5 separate regions of the Homo sapiens genome follow, and all the other regions are linked to region 1. Evidence: promoter capture Hi-C in 16 types of primary human blood cells and fetal thymus (Javierre and others, 2016). All regions are on one chromosome and are shown on one strand. The core of a region is centred on a gene start or on the middle of the fragment in contact, and the rest is flanking DNA. Distances in the headings are between cores, read along the strand shown. Region 1 holds the start of CHIC2 (cysteine rich hydrophobic domain 2). Region 2 overlaps SCFD2 (sec1 family domain containing 2). Region 3 overlaps SCFD2 (sec1 family domain containing 2). Region 4 overlaps SCFD2 (sec1 family domain containing 2). Region 5 overlaps FIP1L1 (factor interacting with PAPOLA and CPSF1).

What was found. Contacts are between HindIII fragments. The CHiCAGO score rates a contact against its expected background, and 5 or more counts as called.
Region 2: a contact is called between a fragment that was not itself captured here and the fragment with the promoter of CHIC2 in region 1, in 2 of 17 cell types (total B cells and total CD4 T cells). The highest score is 6.0, in total B cells.
Region 3: a contact is called between a fragment that was not itself captured here and the fragment with the promoter of CHIC2 in region 1, in 1 of 17 cell types (endothelial precursors). The highest score is 6.0, in endothelial precursors.
Region 4: a fragment that was not itself captured here is called in contact with the fragment with the promoter of CHIC2 in region 1 in 1 of 17 cell types (total B cells); the score reaches 7.1 in total B cells.
Region 5: a fragment that was not itself captured here is called in contact with the fragment with the promoter of CHIC2 in region 1 in 1 of 17 cell types (total CD8 T cells); the score reaches 7.4 in total CD8 T cells.

Annotation. Positions count from the first base shown.
Region 1 is chr4:54,061,618-54,066,577 of GRCh38, reverse strand. It overlaps CHIC2 (cysteine rich hydrophobic domain 2), which reads left to right and starts at 1,973. Exons shown (of 6, transcript NM_012110.4): 1 at 1,973-2,396. The coding sequence starts at 2,278. RefSeq lists enhancers at 1-68, 2,065-2,565 and silencers at 1,666-1,905, 2,136-2,265. The HindIII fragment of the contact is 3,181 bases long and covers 1-3,149 here.
Region 2 is chr4:53,349,765-53,354,518 of GRCh38, reverse strand. SCFD2 (sec1 family domain containing 2) reads left to right here. Exons shown (of 9, transcript NM_152540.4): 2 at 1,753-1,921. Among named protein-coding and RNA genes, the nearest start is that of SCFD2, 14 kb to the left of the region's middle. The HindIII fragment of the contact is 1,219 bases long and covers 2,160-3,378 here.
Region 3 is chr4:53,099,409-53,104,339 of GRCh38, reverse strand. All of the region lies in intron 5 of SCFD2 (sec1 family domain containing 2), which reads left to right. Among named protein-coding and RNA genes, the nearest start is that of SCFD2-AS1, 170 kb to the right of the region's middle. The HindIII fragment of the contact is 847 bases long and covers 1,629-2,475 here.
Region 4 is chr4:53,184,423-53,189,063 of GRCh38, reverse strand. The region is part of intron 4 of SCFD2 (sec1 family domain containing 2); the gene reads left to right. Among named protein-coding and RNA genes, the nearest start is that of SCFD2, 180 kb to the left of the region's middle. The HindIII fragment of the contact is 216 bases long and covers 1,750-1,965 here.
Region 5 is chr4:53,387,697-53,392,057 of GRCh38, reverse strand. FIP1L1 (factor interacting with PAPOLA and CPSF1) reads right to left here. Exons shown (of 18, transcript NM_030917.4): 6 at 2,185-2,249; 7 at 1,430-1,537; 8 at 919-1,049; 9 at 560-628. Among named protein-coding and RNA genes, the nearest start is that of FIP1L1, 12 kb to the right of the region's middle. The HindIII fragment of the contact is 1,298 bases long and covers 998-2,295 here.

The sequences.
Region 1 (4,960 bases), core at 724-3,223:
ATCTTAAATCGTCACATGGCCTTGAGAAAGCCACATAGCATCTCTGAAATATAGCATATCATAGCATCTCTGAAACATAGCATATCTGAAAATAAATACACCCTCTTTGCTTACCTCACAGGTTCTTGGGGGAATATTAAATGATATATTATGTACGTGCTTTATAAGCAGTAAAATATTACATAATGCTGTGGTAACCCTCACAGGGTTGATAAGCTAGGGAGCCTTAAGCATCACCTATTACCCCGTATTTATTGTGTACTGGGCCTTCTTCTAGGCACTTCACCGATCTTAAGCCCTTGAATCTGCTGAGCATCCCAATGGGGCAGGTACTGAACAGGGAAGTTAAGTGGCTTGTCTAGGGTCACACAGTAAGTGGCAGAGCTGACATTCAAGGCCAGGTAGTCAGGTTCCAGAACACACATTGTTAAACACCAGACCAAGCTGCCTCCTGTGTGCCCCACTGACACTTCCTGTGTCCTCCTCCATGAGCCCCTGGCAGAGATGACAATTGCTTGCCTTAACAATAGATAAGCTACCAGAAGTCAGGGCCTGTGCCTCATTCACACACGTCCACAGTGCCTGCCACATAGCTAGAGTTCAGTAGATATTTGTTGAATGAACAAATACCCTCCAGGGAGGGATACAATAAGTCTGATACAACTACTGTATTTTTCCTTCATTTTTTCTTGGCTAACCACACTCATTTCCTTCAGTTGTTTCCAAAAGGAGGTTGGCATCTCTCACTGTCCTCATTGACCTCCTTTGCACTTTCTCCACGTCAACAGTGACCCATCTAAAGCCGACTACTGTGACATGAACACTGCACTTGAAGAGCCTGACCAGCGCTGGGCTCAGTAGAACTATCCTTTCTTCTCCCATGGTGTATCCTCACTGTCCAGGACTCTCTTCTCAGAAGCCCACTCCTTCCCCTGTGCTGTTTATATGCTTAATGAAACCAAGTACCCAAAGTGACCGTTCAACTGTTACTAGGCAGCTAAGTAGACTCCATTAAACCTTTTCCTTCCTTCCTCCCCTTCTTTCTTTCTCTCCCATTCTTCTTTCATTCTTCTCGTCCTTCCTTCTATCCTTTCTTCCTTCCTGCCTCCTTTTCTTCCTCTCCTCTGCCCTTTCTTTCAGGTCTTTTTTGTGGTAGGAACTGGTAAGAAAAGGAAAGGAATTCCCTAAGATTTTAAGGAAACAACAACAAAAACCAGGTTATGTTTGGTGAGAGAGTTGGGGCAAGAAACTGCATCTTCTAATATGGAATCCAGGTAATTTATCAGTTTTTTTTCATAGCATGACTACGGTGAGATTTCTTGTAAGAAAAAAAAAAAAATACCAGCATCGCTGGCCTCATATATTGGATTATACTTAAGGGGATCAAGGGATAAGATGTTTGAATTTGGAGATGTCTTGAAAAATCCTGTGGTGAGCACAAATGTTTGCAGTGTCTCTGCTGGACTCCTCAAATTGGGAAAAAAGAGACTCTGGTTCTCATCATAGACTCAAAACCTGAGGAAAAGCGAGATGCGATTATTAGATAAACTGGCAATGACACGCACAAAAATGTGTCTATTCCAGCCAGGGCTTTTCTTTTCAGTTGTTTGTTTTGGTTAGAGATGACTTTGGGGAACTGCATGTCCCACTGGACATTCCAAGCTGCGTTGTCGGAGTCGCGGGTCGCGGCCTCCAGTCAGCGGAGCCGCCGCCCCCAGGGTCCGCCACCCAGAAGTCGGCGGAGGGGGGCCCGCCGGCGGGAGCGCGCGCCCCGGTCGCCGTCTGCGGGTAGAAGCAGAGGAAAGACGGTGGCCTGGGAGCGCGCGAGGCCGCACGTGCGCGCGCCCGCCCGCCCGCCAGCCAGTCCGCTCGCCCACGCGCCCACGCACGCGCCCGCCCGCCCGTTGGCCCGGGAAGTCTCGCGATGCCGTAGCCGGCTGCTCCCGCTGCGGGTGGCTCGGGCTGTTGCTGTGGTTTCCTGAGTTGCTGCTGCTGCGGCGGCGGCAGCGGCGTCTGTGCTTGTGGAGGTGTCGGCCTCTGGGCGGATGTTGACATTGTGTTGTTGTTATTGCTGATGGTAATGGCGGCGGCGGTGGCGGCGACGGTCCAGACCCCATCCCCTCTGTAGCCGGAGCCGAGACAGCCGACAGCGAACTCCGCGGCCTCGGAGCCGGCGGCAGCGGCGACTCCCCTCAGCCTCCGCCGCCTCGCCCGCCGGTACCCCGGCGCCAACCCCGGGAGTCAGGCCCTTTGGGCAGGGGAGCTCGGAGGCTCAGGATGGCGGATTTCGACGAAATCTATGAGGAAGAGGAGGACGAGGAGCGGGCCCTGGAGGAGCAGCTGCTCAAGTACTCGCCGGACCCGGTGGTCGTCCGCGGCTCCGGTCACGTCACCGTGTAAGGCCCGGAGGAGGGCGAGGGCGGGAGGTGCGGGCTGGGGTGGGCCCCGTTACTCCACGGGAGCCCCGTTTCCCCTGTGTCCGTCTGGTGTCGGGGGCCTTCCGAAAGAGTAGGCAACCAGGAAGTGAGAACTTGGCTTATTTTCATTTGTTTGGGTCTCCGAAGTGGGGACGGACGCTGTCCTTCCTCCTCCACACACCCCTTTAGCAGGCCCTACAGGCCCGGGCGATGTGACGATCCCAGTAGGCACGGGTTTTCATTAGGGTCTGCCCTGCGGGCCACCCTTCCTCTTCAGGGTGGAAGTACGTGTATTGACAGGGAGCCTCCTTGTTTTCTCGCCCAGTTACCCTGTGGTTGTCTGTGCCTTTGCACCCAGTGACATGGCTCAGAGGCCAGATCTGGGCCGTGTGAGACCCCAGTGACAATTGGCAGCGAAGCTCCGTTTCGTGTCTATTTCACACATACCCACAGGTCTCCCAGTTTTTCCACTAATTTCCGCAGAACTAATGCAAGTTCTTGTAATTGTACGTGATAAAAATATATAGTTGAACACAAATTTAAGATATACAGAAAGAAATATGTTTACAACAACAACAACAACAACTACGTGAGGGACATACACTCTGCTCAGGTTACTGAGGGAAAATTGTAGTCCTGAAGCTCCTCCTTGGGGCACGAACTTGGGGCTTGTTAATTTGGAAAGTCCCACTAGTAACATTAAAAGTCTGATATTAATAAGGAATGAAAGCTTTCGGAAAGACCATGACAAAGGAATGTGAAGCCTTGAACCAAATAATGAGCTGTCCGGAAGCAGGAAGTTTTGTAATGTTTCACTATGAAGTCCACAGTTTTGTACCACTTGATGTATTACATTGATACTCTCTCATTTTAGATCTCTTGTTCAAATAATAGATCAGACTTCCATACTTGTCAGGTATCTCTGTACTTCTTCACCTTTTCAGTGAAACAAAAGAGCCAGCAAGTCTGAGAATGTCTGGAATAGTCTTCATTATATTTTGGTGAAGAGTGAGTGGGATGTGCTGTGAATAACTTAGGGAAACAGTAAGACTTCTCATATAAGTTTGTCAGCAAAATAATTGCATTTCTCGTATGACCAGCCATATTGTTGTTTGAGTATGCTTATGTAATGCTTTAATTTCTTTAGTACCTGTTAGTTTATGTTCAGGTGACTTAACAGGGTAAAAACACTGCATAATTGCCATCACAGCACCATGACAAGACAGTGGAATTTAATTCACCACAATAATACTTTCTAAGTGTTGTCACCAGCTTAAGAAGTATAACCAAATATCATGGATATTAAACTTTTAACATATATCACAGAATTCATAACCTGCCATTTGATTTTATTTTGACTTTTAGGACCTTTTTGCACTGTTTTAAGCCTAAGGAGTATGTGGATGCTTAAAGAAGTGATTTCCAAACTTTGTCATGCCATCTATCCCTCCTTCTACATTCCTCATGTCAAAGAAAAGCTAGAGAATTTTGTCATTTAAAAAGGCGACGCTGTAGTTGTAATGTTTCCTCTGTTAAGGAGAAGAAAAGCTAAGCACTTTGTTGGGCAAGTGGAAAATGCAATAGTGGGCAAAGTGCTCAGAACCTAGGTAATCAGTAAACTTGATTGTAGTTGGCTACGTGGAGAGGTTAATAGGGTAGAAAATAATTATTAGTGGTTTTCAAACTTAGCTGTCCATTAGAATCCTGGGTGTCTTTAAAAAAAGACCATTGTCTTTGCTCCACCCCAGGCCAGTTGAAGGCCAAATACTAAGTGAGGGTCCTAGGAGTGGACAGTTAAAATAATAAATAAATAAATAAATAAATAAATAAAATCTCACAGGTGATTCTAATGTGTAGCCAAGATTGAAAACTATTCCAGGTTATAGGGAGGGACTATCTATCATCAATAAACAGTATGCCTTTCTACATTGTGAGTTAAATCTCTGATTTTCCTCAGCAACTTCCTTCTTCTCCCATTTATCTTGGTTCTAGGCTCTGGGTTAAAATCTATCTCAGCTACTTCCTGGATAAATTGTTTATTCATGACCTTTAGTTGAGATGGGGATAGTTATAGTCGATACCTTTTAAGATTATTAAGGATTAAATGAGATAGTACATGAAAAGAATTTATTGCACTGTGTGGTACTATGTTCAATAGATACTAGTTTTTATTATTCTCCTCCTCAGATATAGTTTTCCACTTTGAGAAACAGGTGTAAAACAAAGTACTAAAAAATTAGAACTGCCATTATCAAACATAACAATGATTCACCTTAGTCTTATTTTTCCATTTCTAAGCAATGTGTATGTGCTTAAATTACTGTGTTTGAAGTATTTTGATGACAATAAGGATCTTTCTGCATTGAAAACTTAACCTGTTTTGTGGCGACATAGGTAATAATAGAAAACTTTTTTTTTTAACATGGCTCTGTCATGCATAATTCCCAGGCACACTAGCACACCATGCCAGTGGGTAGCCCAGTTAACATCTATAAAGGTTTTTAGAATTGGTGCATATGTATTACTATAACTGTTGAGCACAT
Region 2 (4,754 bases), core at 1,520-4,019, 710 kb after region 1:
CCCCTCTCTGGGCTGGTTGAGGCCGGAGCCAGCTCACTTGGCTTGCCGGGAGATGTGGAGGAAGAGGCACGGGCAGGAACCAGGCCTGCACTGCGGCGCTGGCAGGCCAGTGTGAGTTCCATGTGGGCGTGGGCTCGGCGCGCCCCACACTTGGAGTGGCCGGCCGGTCCAGGCAGTGAGGGGCTTAGCACCTGGGCCAGCAGCTGCAGAGGGTGCGCTGGGTCCCCCAGCACTCCCAGCCCACCCACACCACGATTGAATTCTCGCCAGGCCTCAGCCACCTCCCCGCGGGGCAGGGCTTGGTACCTGCAGCCCGCCATGCCCGAGCACCACCCCTTCCCCCTGTGGGCTCCTATGGGGCCCGAGCCTCCCCAACGGGCACTGTCCCCTGCTCCGCAGCACCCTGTCCCATCGACGGCCCAAGGGCCGAAGAATGTGGGCACGTGGTGCAGGACTGGTGGGCAGCTCCAGCTGCAGCCCTGGCGCGTGATCCACTAGGCGAAGCTAGCTGGGCTCTTGAGTTGGGTGGGGACTTAGAGAACTTTTATGTCTAGCTAGAGGATTGTAAATGCACCAATCAGCACTTTGTGTCTAGCTCAAAGTTTGTAAATGCACCAATCAGCACCCTGTGTCTAGCTCAAGGTTGGTAAATGCACCAATCAGTGCTCTGTGTCTAGCTAATCTAGTGGGGACTTGAAGAAAGTTGTGTCTAGCTGAAGGATTGTAAATGCACCAATCAGCACCCTGTGTCTAGCTCAAGGTTTGTAAATGCACCAATCAGTGCTCTGTGTCTAGCTAATCTAGTGGGGACTTGGAAAACTTTCGTGTCTAGCTAAAGGATTGTAAATGCACCAATCAGCACTCTGTGTCTAGCTCAAGGTTTGTAAATGCACCAATCAGCACCCTGTCAAAATGGACCACTCAGCTCTCTGCAAAATGGACCAATCAGCTCTCTGTAAATGGACCAATTAGCTCTCTGTAAAACGGACCACTCAGCAGGATGTGGGTGGGGTCAGATAAGGGAATAAAAGGAGGCTGCCCGAGACAGCAGTGGCAACCTGGTTGGGTCCCTTACCACACTGTTGGAGCTTTGTTCATTTGCTCTCTGCAATAAATATTGCTGCTACTCACTGTTTGGGTCCGTGCATGCCTTTATGAGCTGTAACACTCATGGTGAAGGTCTGCAGCTTCACTCCTAAGGCCAGTGAGACCACGAACCCACTGGGAGGGATGAACAACCCCAGAGGAGAGGAACGAACAACTCCAGACGCGCTGCCTTAAGAGCTGTAACACTCACCGCGAAGGTCTGCAGCTTCACTCCTGAAGCCAGCGAGACCACGAACCCACCAGAAGGAAGAAACTCTGAACATGTCCGAACATCAGAAGGAACAAACTCCGGACACACCATCTTTAAGAACTGTAACACTCACCGTTGAGGGTCTGCGGCTTCATTCTTGAAGTCAGCAAGACCAAGAACTCACCAATTCCAGACACGCTAGGTGCTAGGGATACAGTACTAGCCACAGCAGACATGAGTTCTGCCCTCATGGAGCCTTAATTACAACCTGTGAGGTACATGTTGACTAGGTGATTGTGAATGTGATTAGCTGTATGAAGGGCAAAATGTGAGTTTTGTTGAACAGAAACTAAAAATGTATGTTATTTTTGATAGAAGGTGTGTGATAAAACATTTATCCAACTTGCTTTTTCCTCCCATTTTATGAATTTACATCATCTTGTCTGCTTAAACAGGAGCAGTTGGACATCATGGAGACAACTTAGTAGAGAAGATCATTTCAGCACTTCCCCAGCTCCCAGGCCACACAAATGATGTGATGGTTAACATGATAGCGCTCACTGCACTCCATACTGAGGAGGAAAATTATAATGTGGTTGCACCAGGCTGTCTTTCACAATCCAGGTAAGATATATAGTTTTTGTCATCTTATCTTTCTCTGTCTTCCCCTTTCTTTTTCTCCTAGACTGAGTATTCCCATAGGAAAAAAGCAATGAAGAATTGGTCTGGTTGAAAATTTCACAGTGGGTAGCATTTAGCAAAAAGCATTTTTTCTTAATTTTGAAATAACCACATCCACTAAACATAATAATCCAGAAAGTATGGAATTTTATAGAACTGTCATTTACATGTAATATAAGCTTGTTCCCAGGATTGGTTAAGTGAATCAGTTTATGTATCTCCATTTCACAGATAGTTTCACATGGAATTGAGTCTAGTCTTCCTCAGTTTCTTTTTCCCAGTTGACTTTTTCACATCACTAAAAAGCAACTCAAACAGCAATGAAACCATGCCATCTTTTTATATTAGATGATATACCTGTGGATATCAACAGAAGTTTTTATTTCTAAGTATATTTTTTTTCACATGCTTAGAGGAATCAAAGAGAGAAGATTATGTACGTTGTTATGCAGAGTTTAAAAAATAAGAATTTCTCCAGAAATGACAATGAAAATATATGATAGTCACTTTCTCAACTTTGTCCTTCATTAACAATTCTCTTGGGAATTACTCTTGTTTGAAAAAATAAAAGTATTAGAAGGGAAAAAAGTATGTAAGTGTATCTGTTTTTTATTTTCATGTTTTATATTTTTAAATAAAACAGGATCTTTCAGTATTATAGTTTTAAATCTTCACTGTAGCAGATGCATTTGGAATTTCCTCCCATATTTATTAATATAATTAGTATATGTAGCTCCTGAAGTTTTTAGCCTTTTTGTAGATATTTAAGAATACTTATTGGATACCCAATGTTTGTGGGTCAATGTGGGAAGAAAATGGGAAGTTCTAGACTTTTGTCCATTTGGTGTGTTTACACATACAATAAAAGCATAGGCCTAAAGGCTTGCAGCTCTACAAACCCAGAAGTAATGTGATTGGAAACACATTTAACTGTTCAGAGAGCCATTCAGAAGTTAATTATTAAGGACTTAACTGTGAGCCTTACTCTAGGTTAACTAACAGGAACGACATAAAATAATATATTATTATTCAAACACTCTTTTTGTTGGGGAGTCATGATTTATACCCAAGCATAATTTGAAAAGAATAGAAATGATATGAAGTTAAGATTAATGTATCTGCTATGGAGTATAATTTCTACAAGTATCAGGTTAATGTAGTCTTTGTAGATCAATGTAGACCTTGAGGAAGTGGCACTGCTTTAATTATGTCTTGAATGACTTAGAAAAGAGGAGGGGGTTGATGTGAACCAAAGTATAGAAACAAAAAATGGTCAGGGCCTGACGTCAGTGAGAGATGACCTCATTGGACCACTTCTGTCATCTGCTCTGTTCACATTTTTTGGGAGTTATGATGAGCTAGATACACTTCCAAGCATTTTACGTTTGGGAAATTAAGCTTTACAGTATCCTAATGAGGTAGATGTTGTTATTCCCCTATTTTATTGGTAAGGAAACTGAGGCAAAGAGACATTAAGTAACAGAGTTCGTGGGAGGTAGAGCTAGAAATGAGTCCAGAATGTTTGACTTTAGGCCAGGTACAATGGCTTATGCCTGTAATCCCAGCACTTTGGGAGGCTGAGGCTGGTGGATCACCTGAGGTCAGGAGTTTGAGACCAACATGGCCAACGTGGTGAAACCCTGTCTCTACTAAAAATACAAAAATTAGCTGGGCATGGTGGCAGGTGCCTGTAATCCCAGCTACTCAGGAGGCTGAGGCACGAGAGTATCTTGAACCTGGGAGGAGGAGGTTGCAGTGAGCCAAGATTGTGCCATAGCACTCCAGCCTGGGCAACAGAATGAGACTCCATTTCAGGAAAAAAGAAAAAGTTTGACTTTTGAGCCACTGTCTTAACTTCTATGCTATCTATGTGAAGGGTCCAGAGAAGAGCTAGGCTCTTGAATAGATTTAAAGAGATGACAGACAAAAATAAAGTTACTCTTTGAGTTAATTTGGGAGTCCTATGTTTTCAACATAGTGATTATACAAACAATGGAAATCAATTTTGGCTAATTTAAGCAATAAAGGGTTTTTAAAGGGTATTGGGTAGCTAAAAGAATGAAAGGAAGGATTATTAATCAGATTTTTGAAAGGACAAAATAGTTCTAGGAATATAGGAAGCAGAGGCTCAGGAAAAACCTGTTTAAGGCATTGACATTAGAGAGACTGAATTTTAACTGTTTTCTTTGAGTCCTTCTCCTTAAGATTCAGATTCTGGGGGAAATGGTAAGACTGACTTTTCTTGGCCATTGTGCCCACCTTTTGCCCAGTGTGGGTTGGGAGCTGTTTATACTGACTAGAATTATGCTAATATCATATGGCATGGCGGAGGGGTGGTTCTTCAAAGGAAAATGGAAACACTTATCAGAAGATGGGGGAACAGATGCTGGACATGCAAAAATAGTAGATGCCCCTTAGTAATAGCACACACTTACAGAGGACCTTTTGTGTAACAGGCATCATTCTGAGCACTTAATACATATTAACTTACGTACTTCTCACAATATCTCTATGAGGTGGATTCTCTTAGCGTCCCCGTTTATAGAAGACGAAGGAAGTTAAATAACATGCCTAAGGTAACGCATACAGTTAGACTTGGTGGAGGCCTATATTTGAACCCAGGCAGCCTGGCTCTAAAATTAGTGTTTACCATTACCCTGTGCCACTTCCACAGAAACCTAAGGTAATTACCAAAAAAATAAGTAAGCTCCCCAGAGGAGTTTGCTAAAAGAAAGAAGAGCCCATCATTGGACAGAGGTAAAGAAGCAAATTTTTA
Region 3 (4,931 bases), core at 803-3,302, 960 kb after region 1:
TCTCATTATTAGATTGGTGATATAAATTTTGGGGAGAAAGACTGCAGAGGTAAAGTGTCATTTTCATTACATCGTATCAAGAGTATATACCATTGACATGATGTTGACCTTTATCACCTGGCTGAAGAAGCATTTTTCAGTTTTCTCTACTGTACAATTACTCTTCCCCCACTACTCCTGCTTTCATACTCAACTCTTTAGGAAGTAGCCCACACTTAATAAATAAGGAGTTATGCTCCACCTCCTTGAAGGCAATATACATACATAACATCTATAAAACCTCAGCATAATTATTAGGAATTCTTCTGCACAAGATAGTTTTCTCTTCTCCCTTTATTTACTTAATCAATTATTTATTTATATCAGTATGGACTGATACATATTTATTTTGTATTTTGGGTTATACTCCAATACGTCATTTTCTTTTTTTTTTTTTTTTTTTAGCTCATATTGTTCCAGCTTTGGCCATTGGGAGCTCTTTCAGTGGCATCTGTGTTGTCAACCCTTACGGCATTTTTTTTTCTTTTCTCCCATCCCCTACCCCATGCCTTTTTTTTTTTTTTTTTTTTTTACTTCCTTACTTTCTGGAACTACAAGACCCAGACTCATGTATATTTCCTGCCTTTGTCCTAGAATCAGCTATTTCTTCAGGGAACCCTGCTTCCTTTCACTGGAGGATATTGAAAATCAAGATCTGGTACTAGATATGCTCATTGCTACTGGAATGTCATTGTTCTTCTACATCCTCTTAGTTGACAGAGCAAGAAAATTATATATATATTTATATATAATATATATAAAAACCATGAAAATATAGATATCTATAAATATTTTTATGAAACATTCTATATCCAGATTAAGCTAAACATTTGTTTATACTAATGTCTTCAGCTGTAATCCATTACCAGGTGGAGCATTCTGTGTGAATAGATGGATTATAGCCTTATGTCCTTGTTCATCTGCACACTTCCACACCAACAGTGAAAAACTTGGCTCCCATAATTCTCCATCCATTTATTTGTTTAGATTCAGTTCAGACTCCCAACCCCTACTCACCCACAATACTAAGTAATGTAGCCTTCTTGGGGTGTTATATCCAGAGCCCTTTGCTAATCATCTCCCTTCAGTTATGTTAATTTTGATCACCCAGTCAAGACATTGATTTATATTTATTATGTTCTCCCTTGCAAGAAATAAGCAATGTGTGGTCATTTTCTTTGAGACCATACAAACATCCTGCTTCTCATCAAACTTTTCCCCATTGATTCTTCCCACAATCTTACAGTGATGGTTGTAAAGGGTGATTTTCAATTCCATTACACCCTGCACTCATCAGTTGACATTCTACCAGAAGGAAGAGCCTTTCCTTCTCTCCAGCTGTCTGCCTATGTATGTATGTATTTATTTATTATAAGTATAGACTCATGGATTCTTAATTCAATGAGTTGTAATGAATGAATTTGGGTACCTTATTGTTTTACATTTGTCAAGTAAGAGCTCCTGCAAGCTGGTTCCTATATTTTTGTTAGACATTGTGAAATTCCCCTACATAAGATTTACACCCTTTTGCCTTCCTGAAAATCATGTATAAAAATGGGCCTGTTTTTCTTCAGCCTCACCAACAAGCTTTTGTTTTTTTGTCAAACTGATGGATGAGAAATTGTTTTCAATATAATTTTAATATGAATTTTCCTTTTATGTAAAATTGAACATATTTTCATATTTTAATGTAATTTTATATCTTTTTTGTGTATTTTCTATTCCTGTCTTTTGCCCATTTTCTAGAGTACTTTTGATCTCCTTTCATCAACTTTTAAAAGTTCTTTATAAATTATGAATATTAGTTCTTTATATTATTTGCAAATATTTTCTTCTAATTTATTTGTCCTATCATTTTGCTTATGGTGTTTTTGCCATTCAATTTTTTTTAGTCAAATATGTCAATTTTTAAAAACTGCATCTGGATTTTTAGTCACAGAAGGCCTTTTCTACCCTCAGATTATAGAGGAATTATAGAGGAATTTATCCATCAAAAATTACTTGTATACTTTTACTTATTAAAAATCTGATCTATTTGAAGTTTGTGCTTACTGGATGACATGAGGAATGGATGAAAATTTATCTTTTGGAAATGGCTTTCCAATTGTCCCAACAGCACTTATTAAAATGTTCTTTGCTGCCCCAGCATTTTGAGTTGCACCTGTATCATATACTAGAATAATTTCCACCTGTGGTCAGGTCTTTTGCTGGACTTGCTGTTCTGCTTCATTGATTTGCATGTGCATTCATGTTCCAGGACCACACCGTTTTACTTATACAGATTTTGTGGTAGGTTTTAATATCTGATGTGGCTGTTATCTCCTCACAACTCTTTCTTTTCATTGTTTTTCTTGATATTCTCTTTTGGCTATTGTTTCATGTGAAAATTCATGTGTAGTAAAGTTCATTTGTTTATTTCCCAGGGGAGAAAAAGCTTATTGGTTTTTTTTTAATTGGGATGTCACAAAATTTATAAATTGACTTAGTGAGTACAAACATCTTTTGATGACATTGAGACATCCTAATCAAGAACCAGGAATGTCTTTCCATTTGTTCAAGTCTACATTTGTGTTTTGCAGAGTGTTTTATTAAAGTGTTGGTCCTATAGGTTTGAAACATTTGGAGTTTATTTCCAAGTATTATCTCTTTTTTCCATTGTTGTTGCAAATGAGGTTTTTCTCTACCATTATATCTTTTAAGTCACCCAGTGGTTCTTAAAGTTCTGATTAAAAGCACTACCAACTGCATTCTTTTCCATTTGAAACAACTATCTCAGTACAGCCAGACTGTGTGTTATGCATCAGAGATATTTCTTCCATGAGTAATTTCCTCTCTATCAGCAGATACATTTTAAACTTCACACATTACTGTTAACTAGAATCTACTGGAACCCTTCACTATCTAGAATTTAAAAGATCAACTACTATCAAATTAGAATATCATTCTGAAAACTCTGAGTTGCTCTTTGAATCAAAGAGAGTCAAAGAGTCAAAGAGAGGAACAGGACCAGAGAGAAGCCCCAATCTCCTTAGCAGTATGTCAGCATTTGGAAGTGCAGCTCTTTGACTAGGTTCATATACAGCATAGGGGTCCCTGTTGCAGATCCATAAAGCCACTGGTCCTGAGTTTCTACAAGTCAATCCTCTTTATAATGCATGAAAGCTGAAGTGTGTTTAAGTATTTTACCATACAGAAAGTATTGGTAGTTTCTTCCCTGTCCATGGAAGCTGCAGTGCTTCATGTAATCTTTGTGTTTGACATTTTTCTGTCTCCATCGACGCATTTGAAGTTGTGCCAGAGGTGGATATCTGTCTTTTTTTATACTTAATCTCTCAACTGTGGGTTTGCATGATTCATTCGAAAACATCATTTGGGGGTCGTGGTGATTATTTATGCAAAAATTCTGAGTATTTGCATAGTCATGAGATTTTAATGAAAACTTGCAAACCATTTTTTACAATTTACTTCTAACGTTGGTTATATCCTACATTCACTAAAAAAGAGATACTGAAAAATACTTAAAAAGAAAGCAAATTTTTGGGACCCAGAATAATGCTGAAGTAAAGCCAGAAATTCAGTTTCTGTAATCTTGAACACTTACTGGGTTTGGGCTGATTCCATAGGGAGCCTTATGTGTCTGTTCATTCTTTCCTGCTCCAGATTTTATTCTTACAGTACGCTTTGTTGGAATAGTTATAAAAGCAACTTTTTAATAATAAGAATTTGTAATATAGAACTAATGACCTTTCAACACCTAATTTAACAAAGGTAATGTAATTTTGCTATCTAGCGTGGATAGGAAGTGGTTCTTATGGCTAATTAAATAATCACGTTATGAAACCATTTCTATCCATTCATTCACATATGCACACATGCATGTGTACACATTTATTTTTTGTTTGTATAATTTATTTAGTATTTCATAACTATGATGGTACTTCTGATTATTGACTTCAGGACCATCACTAGGTGCCAGACACTATTATAAACAAGGTATTTATTCTTCTTAGAAGCCCTAGTAAGTAGTTGCTATTATTATCCTACATTGAACAGATGAGAGAACTGAGGCAAATTAAATAACTTGCCCAAGTTCAACCAGGTAGTAAATGTTGGCAATTTAATTCCTGAGCTCTTAACTACCACATGAGTAACAATTAGAAGAAGTGAAGGCTAAGATTACTAACATGACAAGCAACAGATTGCTATTATTATTATTGTTTTCTTCATCAGTTTCCTGATGTCCATTCTGATTTCCTTTTAGTTTGCTTATACCATTATTTATTGGTATTTATGAGACTTCCAAATTAGTTTTTTGTTCATATTTTCCTTGTCCACTGAACTAGAATGAGGTTCAATTCAGTGTCTTTTCCAGTATTTTATAAACTTTCACATACCTCTTACCCATAAATAATTTTTTAAAAAATTAAGGACAAAAATCCTCTGCTATGGTTTGGATGTTTGACCCCTCCAAACCTCATGTTGAAATTTGATCCCCGGTGTTGGAGGTAGTCCCTAATGGGAGGTGTTTGTTTGAGGCATGGGGACAGATACCTCATGAATAAGACTAATGCCCTCCCTAAGTGGGTAGGGGGAGTAAGTACTTGCTCTAATAGTTCCTTCTAGAGCTGCTTGTTAAAAACAGGCTGACACCTCTCCTCAGACTCTCTTGCTTCCTCTCTCACAATGTGATCTCTGCACATGCTGGCTCCCCTTCACCTTCCACCATGAATGGAAGCAGCATGAGGCCCTCACCAGAAGCCAAGCAGATGCTGGCGCCATGCGTCTTGTACAACCTGCAGAACCTTGAGCAAAATAAACCTCTTTTCTTGATAAATTACCCAGCCTTAGATATTCCTTCATAGCAACACAAAGTAGGCTAAGATGCCCTCAAA
Region 4 (4,641 bases), core at 608-3,107, 880 kb after region 1:
TAGCTTGGGCTATGTGCTTGATGAATATTTATTCTGTCTAGGGGAATGAATACATTGCATGAGCATTCCTGAGTTACCTGTCAGTTCCTGAAGTTTGGAAATGGAGGTGATCATATGAACCAAAATGGGAGAGTCCCCTAAATAAAAACTGGGTGCTATTATTCAGAGAAGGGGCAATGGATGCTGGGCAGGAAAAAAACAAGTGAGCACTGCATTTGGGATAGACTGGATAGACAATTTAAACAGTTATGTACTTAGACCTCCCCGCCCTTTTTTCTAGCATTTTGTGTTCAAGATTTATCTTACTAGATGGAATTAAGAATTTTCAACTAGGTCTATTCTCTCATTGGTTTTGAAAAGGCATGAGTTAATAGATTGCTTTCAATACTGTAATACCATGGCTTTCACTACTGTTTACTTTGGGAATCTTTGGTAACAGTCGTTAAGAATGAATGAACGTGCAATCTAGTTACATAGTGATGTGCCTGCTCCTTCCTTGCCATGTAGGGAGGATGGGGCTAAATATATTTGTATTCAGACTGGCTCCCTTATGAAGTTGGCCCTTTCGTAGATTTATTATGAAGTTGGAAAGCCACTAAACACACACACACACACACACACACACACACACACACACACACACACCAGTTTTGAAGTGTGAGGACTTTGTCCTCTAGCCTATTTTCAAAGTGGTTGAACTATTGTTCCCTTAGCTGTAACCAAGCATTTGAACTGTCAGGCAAAAGGTTTCTTTAAATTTGCAGAAAGCAATGAGTTACAGCGTGGGTAAACACAGATTGGAAGTGTTTCTACAACTATAACCATACAGATCACTAAATCTTCCATAATTAATGTTTGCTTTGCTTTTTCTTTTTGCTGCTGAGTAAGCATGAGATTAAGGTTTTAGCTTTATCCAGTACTGCTTAGTTATTTGTCTTTTTTTCTATTGCCATTTAACCATTAAGCATAGGATGTTCCCTTGAGTTGTTTTTTGTATTTGATTGAATTTTTCTGCTAAACTGCTTGAGCTGTTTCTGTACCAATAGAACCTGTGGGCTGAAGCTCATTACTGTATGACTTTTATAAGGAGCACAGTGCAGCCACAATTAAAGATATATTCTACCTGAACAATGGGCAAGAATATCTCTTGATGTTTAATTTTTCCTTTTGGAAAGATAATTTTTATTTTGTTAATTATGAAGATATGTTTATCATAAAGAATTTAGAAAATGTTATGGTTTTCCAAAGTCATCTATAATTTTATTACCTGGAGATAATCAGTGTTAGCATTTTGATATCTTTCCTTTCAGATCTTTCTTGTGTGTGTATATACACACACTCATACCTACACACATTTTGTTATTGTTGTTGTTTTAATGAAAATGGGACCATATAATAAGCTGTTATATCATATTTGTTTCATTTATGGCATTAAGTATCTCCCACAAGATCACAGCAGTCAGTTTTGTAAAGGTATTTAGTTTACTAACTAGTCTCATTGTTAGATCACTAGGTTATGTCTAGTTTTTCACTCTTATAAACAAGGCTGCAGTTTACATCTTTGTGCATATCAGTGATTATTTCCTTGGTATAAATGCCTCAATTTCCTAGGTCATAACATATGTACTTTTTTCTTTTTTTAGATTTTTATGGATGTATAATAATTATGCATTTTTAGGAAGGTATGCACATTTTAAGGCTTTTGATGGTTATTGGCAAAGTGCCCTCAGAAATATGCCAATTTAAGCTTTCCACAAGACTCTCTATGCTGTCCATTGCTTCACAGCATTGTCAATATTGCTGATTTAATAAGAAGAAAAATTTAATGAATACTTTCTAATTTCTTAAATAAGGTGTGTTTTCTCATGTTTTTCTCATTTGTATATATTAATGTTTTGTGAAATGCTGAGCTCGGCTTTCCTTTCTTTTCTACTGGAGTTTTAATCTTATTAATTTGTACAAGCTTTTCATGTATTTATGACAGTAATTTTTTTTTCTGTTTGTCATTTGATACTGATTGACTTGATTGATACTTTTATAGCATAAATGCTTTTTTCTTTTTACAGTCAACTCTATCTTTTCCTTAATTGGTTTGTTTTGAAATGTTTATGGAAGACATTATGTCATGCGTTGTGTTGAGAGCCTGATAGTCATTATCTCCTTCATTCCACTGTGCAACCGTGTAAGTCAGATATTGTCATCATCCCCATTTTACGGTTGAATAAACTGACTCTACAAACAGCAAATTGGGAATCAAAACCATGTAGCCTAACTCAGAGCTGGCTCCCTTGAACATTTATTTAATTCTTCTCTTGCTTGATTTTGCTCTTGGTGTCCTATTTAGGCCTTCTACCTCTAAAGATTTTGTAACCATTCACCTGTATTTTCTTTCAGTATAATTATGGTTTAATGTTTACCTAATATTTAAATGTTTTATCTCATGATCTCTGGGATCTCTTTTGTTCTGTCATCTGCAGAAACAGAATAACTGCTTGTTGCTTTTTATTCATGACTCTTTCTTTGTTTTTAGAGCTGCTGCTAAATTCCTTTCTTCCTTTTTTCCCATATTAATGCTAGTATAAGTAAGTTCAACAAACATTTTCTGGACATGTTCTTCGTGCAAGAATCTCTGCCAAGCATTGTAGGAATACAAAAGTGAGTAAGACAGAGTCTGCCTCCCCAGAAACTTGTGATGTAATGACAAGAAAGAGAAGCATTCATAAAGAGCTTTAGGGGGAACTATGGTAAGTCCCGTAAGAGATACACATAATATAGTGGGAAAAGGGGGAGGTAGAATATAATATGAATTGGGAAATAATTAAGGAAGGATTTGTGAGGAAGTGAAATTTAAACCAGATCTTGAAGGGTGGGAAAGACTCAGACTCTAAAACTGGGATAATAATAGCACCATCTTATAGGACTGTCATAAAGATCAAGTGAGTTCATACATGTGAAGCGTGTGAGACACTACCTGGCATGCAGTCAAGACCTAAGTCAATGTTAAGCACTGTTTTCATGATCACAACTTGAACAAAAGTTAGAAAAGTGCTGACTGTAGAATAAGGCCTACCCTGTAGATTTTTACTTACGAAGCAGAATATCCCTTTGATTTTTTTGTGTTAGTAGTTGCTGAATTGTACATTTCACTGTTTTCACAAAGTTATCCATGTTGCATCTCAAGGAGGGCAGGATATTTCTGAAGGAAAATAAATTTAATTAACTTGGAGCCAGTTTTATTAACTTTTATATATTATGCTTTTATTTTGAAAATTGTTCATTGGCTACTAATTAACCTTAGAAAGAGGTTTAAGAGAGTCTGAGAGCCTTAGTTAAAGATTGTAATCACAGTTAAATTTAAATATCTTCAAACAGTGATATATATGTTATGGGTATGCCTTTTATTACTCTTGGTAACTTAATAGAGTAATTCCAGCTTAATTTAGATAATAAAAAGAGTTTTAAAAAATTATATTTGATACTTTTGCTGTTTTGGGGACTTGCAGGTTTCTCTTGGTTGCTGGTAGGACCCTGCCAGGGAACAACAGTCAACATGAGAGACTAGGAAGCAGGAAGCTTGGAGTCTACAATAGAATTTTAAGAGCAGCACTATATAGCATAATGGAGTGCCACTTGAAATGAAATAAATGCGTTATAATTATTATTATAATTCAAAGCAGCTAAGAGTTACTTACTTCTGTAATATATCTAAAATGTTAGTTTCCTATTCAGAGCAGCATTTTCAAGGGTGCCATTCTTGGTTTCCTGGTGCCAAGTATTATTTTCGATTAAAATTGCCATGGTTTACTACAACCTAAGGGCATGAGATAAGGTGTTTTGTGATTATGGTTGCTATACAGTTTACTTATCATAAATTTAATATCACAAAGGATTATCATTTCAAAAGAATTTTGTTACTCTCTATATTTCTCTTTGGATTGCAGGTTCCACTGTGTCAGCCCCTGTAGCCTGAATTAAGTGAAGAATATTTTTCTCTCTTATCAGTCTATAATGTTGAGAGTCAATTAGCTATTGGTAATGTTCACTGGCTTCTATTTAGGGAGAGTATTTTTATATTTTATTTGTTTTTTTCTAAATGCTTTTTCCCTCTAGCAAAGAGATGCATCAAATTCATCACAACAAATCCATCTACAAAGAGAATGCTTGCTCACCAGGAAAGTTAATCTCTTGTAGCTGGTAGAAAGATTGTTTCATGGGCCCGCAGGGTATATTAGAGCAAGTAAGAAGTTTCCAAGCTTCTACAAAGCCTCATGATAACAAACAAGAGTAGTTCTTTTTGCATAGCACTATTGATACTTGACATGAAGTAAACAGTAAGTGAGGGATTGATGAGTTGAGTTCCCTATTGCCAACAGCTTGCTTAAGAGTGGTTCACCAGCCATCTCAAAAGGCCTTTGGACAAACAGAGTAGATATTAGTTAAATTTGCTAGGATATATCTTATGCTTTTCTAATAAATGGACCCTAAAATACAGTAGATATAAGCAAGATAGAAATTTTATTCTTTCTCATGTAAAAATCTCCATCAGTGGTCTAGAGCTGGCAATGCAATTTCTTGGTATGAGGGTTCCAGTTACTGTTGTTCTGCTGTCTATACTATATCCATTTTGTGGTCCGAAATAGC
Region 5 (4,361 bases), core at 397-2,896, 670 kb after region 1:
TCACATAAACCTACTCCTTTTAAGAACAAATTTTTAAAATCAATGGCAGTATCTCATTATGTTGAGTTCTTAAAGCCTCTCAGAGAATGCCTAAGATTTTTGAAGATATCTTGAGCTATCAGGGCATTACACCAATGATATCAGTGTTATAAGTGTCATAGAGATAAACAGTATGCCACCTTCCTTACCATTTTTTTAAAGAGAACAAAAAAGTTTCCAATTCTGTTGATAAAGATTAGAGTATTATCTACAATGAGAGCATAATCTGTTGCCACTAACTTTTCTATCCTACAAACATGTATTACGACTCAAAATGAAATCACAACATATAGCAAACAATAGTTTTACTCGGCATTTGTTAGTATAATAGGCTATAAATTCACATGCTTGCAAAAGTGGAGATAAAACAACAATCAGCAAATTTGTAAGTCACCAGGAAGCTGAAGGTTTGGAAAAAAGGTAGCTATTTCCACTTTAATCTTGTCCCTTGAGTAGTGGCATGGGAGCAGACTCAAGAACAAAAAATGAGAGCAACCAAGGATAATTTACTAAAATTCACCTTAAAAAGATTGAATCTGCCATCTTGGATCTCTGCACCTGGTGTAACTTCCATAGTACAGTCTTCGGCCTAAGTTAAATAACATATTCCCCATTAAGATACCACATAATATTTAATTAATAGGCCATATAAAGACAAACTAGCTGTGGCTAGTCTGTGATTTGAAAGTAAGAACATCAGATAATCATTAAATACGAAACTCTAAAAGGGAGGGAAGGGAAAAACAAACATGGTAAACAAAATGGAATTTTTAAACTATCATATAGCATTTAACCACTTTTATAGGGAAGCGATTTATTTGGGGAGTAAAAGTGGGACGGTAGACAAGCCAAGGGTATTCCGGAGTATTTATTAATTACCGTAATTTTATTTGTAGTAGAGGTTACTGGTATAACTTCAAGTCCCATTCGTATCCTCTTTTGTTTTTCACAGTAAGCTTTCCAGGTATCTTCATTAAACCCATAATTAAAATAATCAGAAAGATCAGCACCTAAAGATAAAACACAACTTTAGTGTACAAATATTTCAGCTCTATTTTTATGCAGCATCAAAAATATACTAAACTATAAAAATATAAATTTAGAGTTCTATCAGTTATCACTCTATCATTTATGGTGGCAAAAAGACTATATCATTTTTGATCAAATTATTCCCTTTACAAACGCCATTATAATAAACAATAAGTCTACATTTTAAGTAATACAAGGCCACCAGTAAGATTTAATAATCCCAAGTCATTATTACTCATCATTTGCTTAAGACAATTAAAATTATAATGAAAAAATAAAATTCTAAATTGATGTTCAAAAAAATTTTCTGATGACTTCACACTGAAAATATTGAAATTAATATAATCCACAATAATCTTACCAGGTTTACGCCATGGTTTATCTTCAAAAGAATCCAAATCTACCTCTAAGAGTGGAACTCCATTAATGCTTCCAGGTGCATCAAGGTCTACTCCTTTGACTTTTGTCCCTGTTTTATAAAATTACAAAATGAAGGAGCTATACTTGCAAGAAGCCAGGCGATACCATAGACAAACAGAAAATATAAACACCTTTTTACTATTCCTGGCACATATACACACACAAACAGAAAACAAACATCTTTTTACTATTCCTGGCAAAAAACCTGGCAAGGGTTCCAAACAAAGCAGAGCCTAAAATACGTGCTACTGGACTCTTGCCAGAAAAACTTTACCAGTCTCTGTGATGTACGGTCAAAAATTACTCTTTAAAAAGAGCTATTATCACCTTGGCCGGGCGCAGTGGCTCACACATGGAATCCCAACACTCTGGGAGGCCAAGGCAGGTAGATCACTTAAGCTCGAAAGTTCAAGAGCAGCCTGAACAACATGGTGAGACCTGGTCTCTACATAAAAATACAAAAATTGGCCAAGCATGGTGGTGCACGCCCGCAGTCCCAGCTACTTGAGAAGGTGAAGTGGGAGGATGGTTTGAGCCCAGGAGACGGAGGTTGCAGTGAACTAAGATTGCGCCACTGTACTCCAGCCTGAGTGACAGAGCCAGACTCTGTCCCCGACTAAAAAAAAAAGCTATTAAGACCTATTTAAGATATGTGCCTTATTTCCCTATTGATGCAACAGAAAATACAAATTTTACCTGTAGTTCCATAAACTCTTCCCCCTGTCTTGATGTTAAGATTTACAGGTGCTGTACCATAACTCCTAAAAACAAACAAACAAAAAAAAACAGAAATTATCCTGAAAAGCTTAAACAAAACAGTAATATATTCCATTTGTACAAACAAATTATACAATCACATAGTAAATGGATAGTGTGACACACATTTTATTTCTATCTTTATTTTTTAAATTTTGTATAGATGAGATCTCATACCATGTTGTCCAGGCTGGTCTCGAACTCCAGAGCTCAAGCAATCCTCCCACCTTGGCTTCCCAAAATGCTGAGATTACAAGAGTGAGCCACCGTGCCCAGCTAACACATATTTTAAAAAACATTTTAAACTGATTTTTAAAGTCACTTGCTCAATAAAAGGCAAAAACAGTAAAAAAAAAAAGCCTGACTTGTTTCCATTTCAAAAACCTTTTTGCCAATAACTCAACATTCTACTGTAACAAACTTCACAAGAAATAAGGCTAAGAAGGGAAAAATAGTTTACACCCCTTGTCTTCATTTCCTTGCCTCCCAGTTATTAAATATACAGCACTCTTAAGCATAAGTAAAATTCCTCCAACTTGTTGTCAAATCTAGTGGCCTTTCAGTTCTTCTTGCATTTGATATTGTTAATAAATCCTTTTTCAACTATTCATGGAGTACTCAGTCCATAACAGAAATTTATTGACAAGAAATTCAAAAATAAGTCTAGCATGAAAGCAGAACAGTGTTTGCCGGTGGTGGGTGGTTAATGACCAAGAGGCAAAATGAGAGAAACTTCTAGGATGCCAATTATGTTTCATATCTTGATCTGGCTGTAGTTACATGAATGTATATATTTGAAAAAATATTAAGCTGCACCTTTTTAGATGTAATATAATACACAGTGATAAAGAAAAAAATATCTGAAGTTGGACCAACCCACATTCAAATGTTTTGTCAATTGCTAGTTGTGTAATCTTGGCCAAAACACCTAAGACTTGTATACAATTATTTGAATAATTCATTGCATTTTTACTTGTATAAATGAGCCTTGTATACATTTTCTGTAATACGGGGTTACAGACAGTTCTTTACTTCTTTATATAATGGATTCTTATATATGAGTAGTATTATCAAATATACTAATTAAAAGAGACTTTTCTGTTACTAGGGAAGTTAGAAGAAAACGGGAATGGGCAAAGAAGGACCAACTCCCACTGAACAAAAACATATCAGTAAGACGGCCGGGCACGGCGGCTCACGCCTGTAATCCCAGCACTTTGGGAGGCCGAGGCGGGTGGATCACGAGGTCAGGAGATCAAGACCATCCTGGCTAACACCATGAAACCCCGTCTCCACTAAAAAATAGAAAAAACTAGCCAGGCATGGGGGTGGGCGCCTGTAATCCCAGCTACTCAGGAGGCTGAGGCATGAGAATGGCGTGAACCCAGGAGGCGGAGCTTGCAGTGAGATCGCGCCACTGCACTCCAGCCTGGGCAAAAGAGCGAGACTCTATCTCAAAAAAAAAAAAAGATATCAGTAAGACCTCAAGTCACAGATGTTTATAATGATATATTTCTCACATTATATTCATGTTATATATTTGGTTCTTTTCTCTCAGAACTTCAGCCATCTGGACTTCAGATTCACTGCTTTGGGTCTAATAATAATTACTTCCATCTTTTGTCTCTGATGTACTACATTTAAGACTTAGGTTTAGTTACATTTGCACTGTCACTTTTCTTTTCTACTTAAAAAAGAAAAATGTAAATTCAATAAAATGTTTAATTGTATCAAATAACTGTAGCTCCACAGCTAGAAATGCAAAAATTACAAAGTGGACCAAATATTACTACTGTCAAGCAGTACTATCGTCACCAACTTGAAATAATCATTTCATAGGCTGATTAATTCATGTAATGCTTACTGAGCACCAAACCATGTCAAGTATGGTTCTAGGCTGAGGAAAAAGTATGAGGAGCTGGACAATTACGGTTCCTGCCTTCACGATGTTTACATTTTAACAATCCAAATTCAGAAAAAGTGACTTAGCGGTATCTACATATGATGTACATGATTTTTCTACAAATGTACAAAAATCAAGGATTTTCTCTAAACTGTTCTCTTACAGGACCGTATAGAATAAAACAGTATTTTTATAAAAGGCTTAGCCACAAGTG